Linked DNA regions of Homo sapiens: all the other regions are linked to region 3. The links are contacts of gene promoters, found by promoter capture Hi-C in human tissues and cell types (Jung and others, 2019). All regions are on one chromosome and are shown on one strand. Each heading gives the region's core, a stretch centred on a gene start or on the middle of the fragment in contact. The rest is flanking DNA. Distances are from core to core; before and after follow the strand shown.

Region 1 (4,321 bases), core at 1,437-3,936, 590 kb before region 3:
TCACAGCATTGCAGAACCAAGTTAGCTAGCATATGTGAAATTGCTTCATAAATGGTAAAATAAAGTCCCCCATAATCATAAAACTGATTTAACACAAACTTCTTATCTTCCAATTCTGTACTTCAGGAGTTCAGCACAGGTCTCATTGGGCTAAAATCAAGGTGTTGGCGGGGCTGCGTTCCTTCTGCAGGCTCTAAGGGGAAATCAATTTCCTTGCTTTTTCCAACATCTAGAGGCTGCCCATATTCCTTGGCTTATGGCCTCTTCCTCTGTCCTCAAAGCCAGCCGTGTTGCATCTGTCTGATTCTGCTTCCATTTCTTTCTCTGATACTGAGTCTCCTGTCTCCCTTTTGCATTGTGATGCCACTGGACCTACCCAGATAGTCCAAAATAATCTCCCTGTTTTAAGATCTGCTGGTTAGCAACCTTAGTGCCGTCTGCAACCTTAGTGTGGTCTGCATCTGCCGTCTGCAACCTTAATTCCCCTTTCCATGTGACTTGACATATTCACAGGTTCTAGGAATTAGGATGCAGACGTCTTTTGGGGGCCATTATTCTGTCTACTACAGTTTTTTTTTTTAGACGGAGTCTCGTTCTGTCTCCCAGCCTGGAGGGCAGTGGCACGATCTCTGCTCACTGCAAGCTCCGCCTCCGCCTCCCAGGTTCACGCCATTCTCCTGCCTCAGCCTCCTGAGTAGCTGGGACTACAGATGCCCACCACCATGCCCAGCTAATTTTTTTTTTGTATTTTTTAGTAGAGATGGGGTTTCACTATGTTAGCCAGGATGGTCTCAATCTCCTGACCTTGTGATCCACCCGCCTCAGTCTCCCAAATTGCTGGGATTACAGGCTTGAGTCAGTGCGCCCGGCCTTCTCAAGAGTCTAACTTTTTTGATGCTCCTCAAAGAAACTGACTACTGGTTCTGATGGTGTTGGTAAGAGTTTCTACTGCAATTACAGTGAGCGCAGTGATAGTGAGTCAGAAGGAATTGCAACCAGTCTCCCAAGACAGAACTAGAAAGCTTGGCTAATTCTTCCTTTTCTTTCATATCCTATGTCAATCAATCATCCAGGCCTCCTAATGTTTAAAAAAATCATCCCTTCTCTCCATCATCATTATCACTCTCCTCACCTCTTGTTGGGACCATATTGTTCCTTTGTTTCCATTCTTGACTTGACCACCAGAGAGACACGGGGCGATCTCCTAAATCCCAAATCTGGCATTGATCTTGTGATAAGCCTGTTCAGTACTTACGTGTTGCTTGCAAGATAAGTTCCAAAGTCCTCTACCAGGCCATAGAAGTCCCCCTGCCCACCTACTCAATCTCCTGTCCTCCACATACACCCCACCCTTTACTCCAAGCTCTAGCCACACCCATCGATTTGCTGATCCTCACCCTGTGTTTTGGTTCATGCTCCTTCAGGAACATGGTGGAGGGGCAGTCTTTTCTCATTCCCCTGGGCCATGTTGCTGTCCCTTTTGGGGACTCCTATAGAAACAATGCCTACATCCATCAGTAAACCCACTGCGTTTTAATTCTCCATTTCTGTATCTTCCTCCTTGGCTATATTGTAACTCCTTTCAAGTAGGCACCGATTCGTATGAATCTTTATAACTTCAGTGCTCTGCATTAGGCCCGTACATAGTTGGCACTAAATCACTGCTAGGTTAATGAATGAATTGAGTAATAAACTAAAGAATAAATCAATGAGTAAAAGGAGAAGGTAAATATGAGAGGGTGTGTCTGAGCACATGAGCCAAGGGAGAATTGCCATTGAGGTCCATGCTCTATGCAGACAGCTGCTTGAGCAGCAGCAACTTGAGAACAGCAAAATGCACTTAGGGAAAAATCACTGAGACCTTCCATTAAGGTTTGATGTGCAATGATGGTTGGCCATGAACTTGCATAGCAGAACAACAATCCCAGGGAACAGAGTCCTCATGCAAACAGAGCCTTTCCACACATGAAAAATGTGACGCTTGTTCATCTGACTTTTATTGAGTCCCACCATGTTCCAGTCTCTGCTTCTGGCACTGGGGACACACTGGTGAAAAGGCTAGAAGGGGAGAGAGACCATCAATGATGTGTAACACTGCACTGAAGATACTAATGTCAAGTAGTGCTCAATGCAATAATGAAAAACAAGGCAAGCTGATATGACAGAGTGGCTAGGGTGGGGGATGAGCAAGGGCCTCTGGATGATAGAATGGCTGAACAGACACCTGGAAGAAGATAATAATAATCAGAATATAATAATGATGATGATGGGGCGGGCGCAGTGGTTCATGCCTGTAATCCCAGCACTTTGGGAGGCCAAGGCAGGCGGATCACCTGAGGTCAGGATTTCAAGACCAACCTGGCCAACATGGAGAAACCCCGTCTCTACCAAAAATACAATAAAGTAACCAGGTGTGGTGGCACATGCCTGTAATCTCAGCTACTCGGGGGGCTGAGGCAGGAGAATCCCTTGAACCCGGGAGGAGGAGGTTGCGGTGAGCCGAGATCACGCCATTGCACTCCAGCCTGGGCAACAAGAACGAAACTCCGTCTCAAAAAAAAAAAAAAAAAAAAAAAAGATGAGCACTTCAGAATGCTTGCTGTGTGCCACGCACTATTTTGAGTGCTTTATTTGTATTAACTAATTAAATATCTCTGAGGATGATGTAAATTTCCATTTGTTACATTTACATTTGCCAAATTGCTACTTAACAAAGAAGAAAACTCTATTTTCTATTTGCACAGAGAGGTTACCAAGTTCACATAGCCAATGATGAGCAGCGGTCTGACTCTTCAAAGTCCAAACTCAAATCATAATTTATTTGCTGTTAATAATCATATTGATAATATTAATAGTTATAATCACAATGGTGAACAGTTCTTAAGAAAAATATTGCTTTGTGTGCTTTACATGGGGTTGACTCATTTAGTTTTCACAAGAACTCTGGGTAGATACTATTATTATTTTCATTGTTTTCTAGATGAAGAAATAAGCTCAGAGAAGTTACAAAAGTTGCTCAAGATTACACAGGTAAAATGGTGAATTTGGAATTTTCACCCAGGCAGTCCTCTTTTGAAGCCTGAGCTCTTAACCTCTGCCTTATACATTTTTAGGCAGCCAGGTACTAGAAGATCTGGGGGAAGGAGTTGTGATATAAAATGAAAGCACTAAGAGCCCAAGAAGGAATCAAGGGAGAGAGCATAGGGAGACAAGGTCATAGGTTGTTTTAGACAGGGTCATAGGTTGTTGTAGATCATCATTTGGAGTGGATTGTTGTAGATCATCATAGGGAGTGGGCTGTTGTAGAACATCATAGGGAGTGGGTTACTCTAGATCATCATTTGGAGTAGGTTGTTTTAGACCATCATAAGGAGTGGGTTGCTGTAGACCGTCATTTGAGTGGGTTGTTGTAAACCACCATAGGGAGTGGGTTGTTGCAGAACATCATTTGAAGTGCGTTGTTGGAGATCATCATAGGGAGTGGGTTGTCATAGACCATCATCTGAGGGGGTTGTTGTAGACCATCATCCGAGTGGGTTTTTGTAGACCATCATAAGGAGTGGGTTGTTGTAGACCATCACCTGAGTGGGTTTTTGTAGACCATCATAGGGAGTGGGTTGTTGTAGACCATCATCTGAGTGGGTTGTTGTAGACCATCACCTGAGTGGGTTTTTGTAGACCATCATAAGGAGTGGGTTGTTGTAGATCATCATTTGAGTGGGTTGTTGGAGACCATCATTTGAGTGGGTTGTTGTAGACCATCACGTGCAGTGGGTTGTTGGAGACCATCATGTGCAGTGGGTTGCTGTAGACCATCATTTGGAGTGGTTGTTGTAGACCATCGTATGAAGTGGGTTGTGCTGACTACAATGGGAAGCCACCTGTCAGTCTGAAAAGGGGACTGATATAATCCAAGAAGTATTTTGAAAGGATGACTTTGGAAGAGGGTGTGGAGAATGGATCCTGTGAACAAACTGGAAGCCAACAGACTAGCTAGGAGCTGTCGCCAACTTCTAGAAAAGAGATGGTGGCACCTTGAATGAAGGAGGTCAGCAGCAGTGACCAGAGAAATGGTCAGATTTGGAATACACTGAATCAGATTTGGAGGCAGAAATGACAAGTTACTGGTGGACTGGGCCAGGGAAAAAGAGAAGAACCAAAGATGACTCCGGGATACTGGTCTGAGCAATTAGTTGGCCAATAGTGTAATGAGCTGATGTGGGGAAGAGATGCAGGTTTGGATTGGGGGTGTGGCTTGGAATCAAACACTCTGGGACCTATTAAGTCAGAGGTGCTTATTAGACACAAGAATGGAGACATT
Region 2 (4,464 bases), core at 518-3,017, 600 kb after region 3:
TCAGATAAGAATATATTCAGGGCGTGGCTGGAGGAGAGAGGCAGTGGCGTGGGGCAGGAGGCTGGCAGAGTGGATGCCCCTCATCAAAAGAACAAGCTCCACCTTCCCCAACCTGAGAGTCTCTGAAAACAGGACCTGGCCCTAACATTTCACGTGTCCAGCGTGTAACCCTGGCAGCCACATTGTGGTATGGATGTTTTTCAAAATCCTTTCCTAACACCCACGTTTGACTGCAGGGAAGTTCAGTGACCAGGCTGCCAGGTCACTGTTAAACAATGGCTTTGGGAACACAGTCCCCATCAGCCGGCATTTGCCTAGAAGGTGGCACCGGGACAGAGGGCAGCCTTCAGCCCACAGCCATCCCAGGAAGACTCCTGCCCAGCCAGTGGGTCTGCTGGGGGCAGCTCCTCAGCTCCAAAAACCTAAAATCGCTCAGAGGCGAGTGAGAGTGACAGAGTGACCACAGAGTTCCCGCCAGGTGCCAAGAACGTGAGGAGGTGGAGGCCCCTCTCCTGGAAGCCTTGCAGGCGTCCTCCAGGCCCATTTGGAATCCCCACCCCACGTTCAGTTCTCTTAGGACTCTGTTAGCAGAAGAGAGGCATATTTGTTGAAGGCCATGCCAATTCCACAAGTTCAATAATTTTGCAAAGGCTTGGACTTTTCATGCTGTTCACGAGCTCAATGCTTCCTCCTCCTCCCCACAAGCACCAGGGCATCCTCACAGATGCAGCAAATCCTGTTTGCTCTTTTGCCGTGTGCATCAAGGTCAGGCACACCAAGGGCGCGCTGGCCTTGGAGACAGGTCCGGTCCCGGTCTCAGTTCCAGAGTGACCTTGGGCAGCCTTTTATTTCATCACTGGTGGCTTCGTCTCTCATGTGGGACGGATTATCTGCCCCATGGGGTGCTTATGAGCACTAAATGAAATTAGAAGCTTGTGAGAGTTTGAAACTGCTTTCTTCCGAATGCGGTTTCGTGCCTTCCATGCAGCTGAATGCCTGCCCTCGGCAGCAGTGATAGTTAATCAGATGTGGGTTTCCTTGCACTTTGAAGCCTTGGAAGAACCCATTGGGATTTGGAGATAATTGCAGGTATTCTTCAGCTCATCAGGACCAGAGTGATCCAATATAAACAAGGAAGAGTGTGCTCTGGGTAACCTGCTGGCTTCTGCCGGTACAGGCGGGCAGGCCTCACTGTCTGTGCCTGAGTCCCTGCGCTGCTCTGCAGCCATCTACCTCGTCTTGCTGATGAGCAGCTGCTGCAGAATGAGGGATTGGGAGGAATTACTAGAGGTCCACCCATGGCAATGTAAAACCAAACCAAACCAAAACAAAAAAACAACAAACAAACAAAAACACAACAAAGTACTGCTATTATTATTTTTTAAAACAGCTTTCTTTCCCCCAAATCTCCATTTTTCATTTCAGAGAGCCTATGCCAGCATCTATAGAAACCCAATATGTGCATCGATAACCAGAACCTGGGGCAGCACTGATGGGGATTTCCAAGCATCTGGAGTAGTGCTGGTAAAATCCACACCCTGGACTTCATTCACCACTGAGGCAGCAAACTTAGGGGATTTTCCAGAAGATGAGGATGAAGAGTTTGGGAGCACATCAGATGCCAGCTGGCAGTGAGGTTGAGGAAGCGAGGTAGAACGGGATCTTAAATGAATCAAAAGAAACCCAGTCATCTGAACTGGGTCATGCTGGAGTTGAAAGGGTGTTGGGCAGGTGTGGAAACCTAGACACAAGCATTGGCAGGACCCTTCTAGCTCCCTGGGGCTGAATGAAGCTTGCCTCAGGGGGTTTGTGCAGTCAAGTATCCTTGGCACATACCCCCTAGGATGAGAGGAACATCCCAAGGTCAACCTTCTTCCAATTCTTTGTGCATCAAGCAGTGTCATCATTCCAGCTGCCCTGGCAAACAGCCTACAGAAGAAAGTGTTCCCTGAGCCATGTCACACGGACACCATTCTGTCCCATCAACAATCACCTCTCTTCTTATTGATGGATAAATTAGCCTCAGGGTTTACACATCAGTTTTTATGAGTCTAGTTAACTTGTGTCTGTCCTTGAGAAAGATAGGCATTGTCAGTGTAATAACAAAATCGGGTTTCTGGAAACCAGAGCTGGGGTGCAAAGAATTCACCCAGGTCAAGGCCCTTCCCCCCAAGAGGTGCCTGCTTGTGTGGCCAGCCCAGCTGCACTTGAGGCTGACTTGCATTGAGGCTCAGTGTATGTAGTCACATGAGAATCATTGTTAAAGAATGACAGATCATGGCCGAGCGTGATGGCTCATGCCTGTAATCCCAGCATTTTGGGCCGAGTCAGGTAGATCACAAGGTCAGGAGTTCAAGACTAGCCTGGCCAAAATGGTGAAATCCCGTCTCTACTAATAATACAAAAATTAGCCAGGCATGGTGGCAGTTGCCTGTAATCCCAACTACTTGGGACGCTGAGGCAGAGAGTTGCTTGAACCTGGGAAGCGGAGGTTGCAGTGAGCCGAGATCACACCACTGCACTGCAGCCTGGGTGACAGAGTGAGACTCTGTCTCGAAAAAAAAAAAAAAAAAAGAATGACAGATCACATTTCCAATTCTTTAGGTTAACATATATGCTTTTATGTTACTCTCTGTGTCTAGTCTCCCTTTTATTGTCACTGTAAATGCTAATAAAATGTTCAATAAATGCTGATTTATTTAATAAATGGATTGATTTATTTAATAAAAGGACTGATTTATTTAATAAAATATTGAGCCTATATTTATTAAATATATTTATTAAATTTATTAACTGTATTTCATGTATTTATTAAATTTATTAGATATATTTAATAAATATAGGCTCAATATTTTTGACTGAAAATGACTAAATACCAGTGAGGGCAAAAGGCAGACTGTATGTGAAAGCACTTTAAGATAAATATGCTTTATAAATACAAGTGATTGTAAATTACCCAGCGGGATTTCATTCTAACACTGGCCACACATGGGACAGGACTTACATCCAAACCATGACCCAAGTCTGCTTTATGGGTTTCATGGTTGTAAGCAGTTTCTCACTCACGCCTTCACTTTATCCTCATAGCGCTGTAGGTAGGGCAAGGTGGGAACTAAGGTTTGAATGTTGTGTTGTGTTATTTGTATTTGATTCAAGAATGCCTTAACCTTGATTTGCCAATCTCCTCTTTTTTCCCTTCTTCTCCCCTCACTCTTTAGCATGGGACTCCTGTGGGAGCAAAATACAAAAACAAAATAAAAATACAATTACCAACTGACAGGAATCAATTATTTAAAATTAGCACACGCCTACTGTCTATGGACATCCATCGTCCAAAAACAAACAAACAAAAATGAACCTTGACCTAAACCTCACACCATATACAATTATCTCAGAATGGATCATGGACTTAAACATAAAACATAGAACTATAAACTTTTGAAAAAAACCCAAGGAGAGAATCTTTGAAATCCGGGGCTAGTCAGAGTTCTTTGACTTGACACCAAATCACCATCCACAATAGAGGAAATTGATCAATTGGGCCTCGTGATAGTTAAAGATGTTTGCTCTCTGACAGACCACATTAAGAGACTGAAGAAACAAGCTGTAGACTGGGAAAGAATATTTGCAAAGCACGTATCTGACAAAGGACTTGCCTCTAGAATACATGAAGAACTCTTACAGTGATGATATGCAGATGGCAAATAAGCGCATGAAAGGCTGAACAACATGATCAGCCAGAAAAATGTAAAATAAAACCAGAATAGGATGGGAGACACACCTGCCAGAGTAGCTAACATAAAAATAACGACCATGCCAAATGTTGACAAGGATGAGAAGAAGCTGGGTCACTCATATGTGACTGGTGGGAATGTGAAATGGTACAGATCCTCTGGAAAAGAGGATGAGTCATTTCTTACAAAACCAAGCATGAACTTGCCATATGGCCCAGCAGTTGTACCCTTGGGTATTTAACCCTAAGAAATGAGAACTTTTATTCACACAAAAACTTGTTCATCAGTGTTCATTATAGACTTGTTTGTGATAGCCAAAAACTGGAAACAGTCAAAGTAATCCATCATGGGTGTATGGTTAAAAAACTGTGGTAAGGCCGGGCATAGTGGCTCACACTGGTAATCCCAGCACTTTGGGAGGCCGAGATGGGAAGATCACTTGAAGCCAGGATCACTTGAGCTCAGGAGTTCAAGACCAGCCTGGGCAACATGGCAAAACCCTGTCTCTACAGAAAATACAGAAATTAGCCAGGCGTGGTGGCACATGCCTGTGGTCCCAGCTACTCAGGAGGCTGAGGTGGGAGGATGGCTTGAGCCCAGGAGATAGAGGTTGCAATAAGCCAAGGTCGCCCCACCGCACTTCAGCCTGGGTGACAGAGTAATGCCCTGTCTCAAAAACAAACAAAAAATCTGTGGTGCATCCATACCATGGCGTACTACTCAGCAATTA
Region 3 (4,313 bases), core at 862-3,361:
GTCTAGGTATTAATGCCGATTACACAGTACACAGTACAGAGGGAGGTCCCTATATCCACACACACACACACCCCATCCAGCATTTACACCAAAAGCCTTACCCTTTAAACACCTTTAACTATCCTGCAAACAGTAAATGCATCATTGGCCACCACCTCCAATAGTTCGTCTTTTTTTTTTTTTATTTTTTTTATTTTTATTGGTCTCTTTGTGTGATAATGACCTACACATGGACAGGGTCCAAACCATCTGGAAGATGTCTGATTCCAGGCTGAAAAGCAGTTCTCAACAAAACTGGTCTTCTGCAGCCACCACAAAGCACCAGGAAAAGGGCACCTCCGCGGCCATCCCCAGCCAGGCCAGCACAGCGCTCCGTGCCCGCTGAACCGTCCCAGGCAGTCCTCTGATGACCCAAACCACCACCACCTTTGGGCCCAGAGCAGGACAAATGAAATTTCAACAGGGGCCTGCCCTGTGACCGAAAATTACTCAGCTTCACAGCCCCTGAATGCAAGGAGAGGTGGTCCCCCCAGAACCAACATGCCCCCCAAGGTGGGTACGCCCACGGTTCTGGGAAATGCATACCTCAGGTAATTCACAGGTGCGATCCCCCAGTGGAGGCGGGGCAGCCTGAACTTCTGGCCCTGCAGGAGTGGGAAGAAATCGCTTTTGTCTTTCCGACAACTGAGCCTTCCACCTGGGGCTGGGAGGGCGGACAGCAGGACCGGCTCTTCCACTCCCCACCGCGGCCCCCCGACCTGGTCAGTAGCTCTGGCGTTCAGACAAAAGGTCCCCTGAGCTGGGGGTGGGGGGCAGGTCGAGAGTAGGCCGGTAAATCAGACTTCGCAGCTCCTTAAGTCACCAGTCCTGCATTTGGGTGCAGAGATTCCGTTTTAAAAATTCGAAGCATCGCTTTGGTTCGCTCTTTGTTCGCGGGCGCGGGTTCTCGCTCATCCATCCATCCATCCATCCAACCATCCATCCATCCATTCATTCTTTCTTGACGCACTCGCTCGCTCCCCGGTCGCTCCGGGCGCATTACCGCTTCTTCTTCTGCTTGAGGGACTTCCTGCGTTTCAGGATCATCTCATAGAGCTTGTCCATGCCCTCGGTGAGGCCCTCGCCGATGATGGCGCACGCCGGCTGGACGTGATAGGTGGTGGCCGGGATAAGCTCGTGCAGCGCCAGCTGCTTCTCAATCTCTGCCACCGGCAGCGACTTGGGCAGGTCCTGCTTGTTGGCGATGACCAGCAGCGGCGTGCCCTGGTTCTCGGCGAACTTGGTCACCTTGTGCAGCTCCGTCTTGGCCTCCTCCAGCCGGTCCACGTCCACCGAGTCCACCACGTAGATGATGCCGTCCGTGCAGCGGCTGTAGGACTTCCACAGCGGCCGCAGCTTCTCCTGGCCGCCCACGTCCCAGAAGTGGCAGCTGATGCCCTTGGCCGTGCCGTTGCTCAGCTTGATCTTCTCGGTGTTGAAGCCGATGGTGGGCACCGTGTTCACGAACTCGTTGAACTTGAGCCGGTAGAGCACCGTGGTCTTGCCGGCCGAGTCCAAGCCCAACATGACGATATGCAGGGACTGGAAGGCCGAGATGTTAGAGGAGATGTTGCCCATGGCTCCTGGCTGCGGCGCCAGCCACTGCGGCTGCGGCGGGAGGGCGCCGCCCCCCGAGCAGTCACGGGCCCGACGCGGCCGGGCGCACCTGGGCCCCGCCCGCCGCCGCCCGCACCGGCCCCGGGGCTCGGCGTCCCCGCGGGCGCACGGCTTGGCGCGCTCAGACGCCGCAGTCCCCGCGCCCTCGCCGGCCGGGCTCGCGATCGGCGGGCATCGCGTCTCTACGCGCGGCTTTGTCTCCCGCGAAGCCGCCTCAGATGTTCGGCGCCCTCCCCAGGCCTGGGCTCGCTCTGTGGTTTCCTCGGGCCGCGCCCCCGCGCTCCGGCAGCTGCCCGGGCTCTCCGCTCTCCCGGCGCCCGGCGCTCGCCTCTGGCCTGGGACGGCGCTGCTCCTGCTCCTGCTCCCGCTCCCGCTCCCGGAGCGCGGGCTTCCCCGGGAGTCGCTGTCCGCTCGGCAGCCTCACAGTCCCCGCGCCGCCGCAGCAGCCGCCAGCCTGCAGCGGCCGGAGAGCTCCCGGACCCGCCCCCTCGCGCCCCGCCCCGGACCCGCCCCCGGACCCGCCCCGGGCCCCGCCCCGCCCGCCGCCGGGGGTCAGGCGCGGTCCTCCCCGCCCAGCCGGCCGTTTTCGCGCGCTTCGCTGCGTCCCCGCCGCCCCCCGCCGCCCCCCGGCCCCTCCCGCGCCGCGCCGCGCAGACACAATGGGCGCGGAGCCGGCTCTTCCTCCCCAGCGGCTGACGCGTTTGCAAAAATAGCTCTCGGCTCCCGGAATCCCCGCCCGGGTCCTAGCCCGCCCCCTGCCCCTCCGGGCCGCAGCCGTGGGCGACGCAGCCTGCCTGAGGGAGTGGGTCCCGGGGTCCCAGCTCTGTGGGCGCGAGGCGGGGCAGGGCGGCCCCCAGGGTGACTGGGAGAGCGCCGCTCTGGGGAGTGAGGGCGGCGAGGCTGGGGCCTCCAAACCCCAGAAGGGACGGGACGGGGCTGGCCTCGGTGAGCTGCCAGCCTGCGCTCTGGATCCAGCCGGGCGCGTCCCCTCCCACCCTCGCGCCGCGGCTGTCGCCGGCCCCGGCCCCCAGTGACGCCCAGGCTCGCCTCCTGCCTGGGTTCCAGGGGGCTGCACCCGGCCAGCGCCGCCCTCCGGAGCCCAGGCCTGTGCCCAGGGCACCCTGGAGGCCCAGCCTTTCTTGCCCGGTGGCGGCGGTTGGGGCAGGGTCGGACCTAGGCCGCGATGGGGGATTAGAAGACCTACCTGCCCCAAGTAGCTCGGACAGCTCACCCTCCCAGACACGCCTGGGCTACCTCATTTCGTCCGCATCGACTCTGCTGACATCCCAGGGGAAGCGTCAGCATTTCGGGAGAGCACCCCTTGCCACCCGACTTTGGGAACTGAGAACCACCTGCCCGCAGGTGAACTACTCCGCAGAAATGGCAACACCAGCCCCGGGGGCTGAAAGAAAATGTGTCTACAGCTTGGAGCTGGTGGCGCAGTGGGTTACAAACACTGATATTCCACGGGTTCCACCTCCTGTCACCTCAGTTCAATGGTTTTATTCTGGTTTGTAAACATGTAACAAATGTATATCCTCTCTGGGTGCGGAGAAAAGTGAGAGTATATTATGGCAAACACACAGATCTGGGGAGAGCTGCTCCGCAGGAGACAGCAGGCCGCAGCATGGGCGACCGCATCTTCCCAGCTCTAGCTTATGAGACAGAAACGACGGAAACGGGGTCAAGGGAGAAGAAAATGAAAATGCTAAGAATTTATGAATAAAAGCTAGAATTTTAGAGAAATACTTTATCACCTTCTGTTCACAAACCACGAAAAGACATATGATATCGTTGGTACCAAAGCATGTGAGAAGACCTCACCTGTAGAAGGAAGGACAAGCCACCACCACCCCTATCCTTGGAATTCCCAAGGTGGCAGCCGGAGCGACCATCCACTCTACTGAGTGGATTTGGGGCTGGAAACGAAGTATCAGGCTGGAAAGGACCCTGCCTATCATTCCACCCAACGTTGTCCAGTGAGGTAACAAGGCCTAGGCGCCCGTGACGGCTAAGGCAGAACCTAGAGGCCCACTGCCTGCTCCAGGACCAAGGGTCTGTATGCACAAAACTGGGCACCTGCCTGCCCTCTTCCTCACATCCCACTCTACCCACACGCTATTTCCTTCAATGAGGAATAAAGTGAGCCACCCGAAGGATAGAGTTCAACAGAAAATATTGGCTGCACTGTGCCACTTACTTCATTTTAAATAAAAATGGAAATGTATTCACTGACATCACTGAAAAGTTAAGGATAAAGGTCCTCTTCAGGCATGGCTAGACCCAGGAGCTCAAAAGGAGTCTTTCGAGCAGGTGTCTCTCCAGTCCTCCTCCGTGTTCCCCTGTGTTGATTCTTTTTCCTTCTGGCAGCCTTGGACTCACATCCTTGGTTTAGATCCTGGAAAGGAAAAGGTACAACTCTTTCCCAGTAACTCTAACCAAAGCCTGGAGCACGCACCCTGGATCAAGGACTGCAGTCCAGGAGGAGGGAACACACCAGTGGATGTGGCCCAGGGGTTGAAATCGGGAAGGGTGGTTCTCCAAGAAGAATCCAGGATCTGTCACCAAAAGAGCAACTCTAGTGAGGCAACAGAAACAACATATGTTGGCATAATTCATAATGATGATGTTTCCGTTATTGGGAACCCTGGGGAGAC

The links. Contacts are between HindIII fragments. The study calls those that stand out against the background at their distance.
Region 1: a contact is called between a fragment that was not itself captured here and the fragment with the promoter of ARL4C in region 3, in 1 of the 25 tissues and cell types used here (heart left ventricle).
Region 2: a fragment that was not itself captured here is called in contact with the fragment with the promoter of ARL4C in region 3 in 1 of the 25 tissues and cell types used here (mesenchymal stem cells).

What each region holds. Positions count from the first base shown.
Region 1 is chr2:233,904,418-233,908,738 of GRCh38, forward strand. No RefSeq gene overlaps it. Among named protein-coding and RNA genes, the nearest start is that of TRPM8, 11 kb to the right of the region's middle. The HindIII fragment of the contact is 4,889 bases long and covers 243-4,321 here.
Region 2 is chr2:235,091,891-235,096,354 of GRCh38, forward strand. No RefSeq gene overlaps it. Among named protein-coding and RNA genes, the nearest start is that of SH3BP4, 140 kb to the left of the region's middle. The HindIII fragment of the contact is 3,221 bases long and covers 158-3,378 here.
Region 3 is chr2:234,494,970-234,499,282 of GRCh38, forward strand. ARL4C (ARF like GTPase 4C) reads right to left here and starts at 2,112. Exons shown (of 2, transcript NM_001282431.2): 1 at 1,043-2,112; 2 at 1-867. The coding sequence starts at 1,617. The coding sequence ends at 837. RefSeq lists silencers at 1,690-1,789, 1,900-2,189 and an enhancer at 2,374-3,147. The HindIII fragment of the contact is 18,774 bases long and covers 1-4,313 here.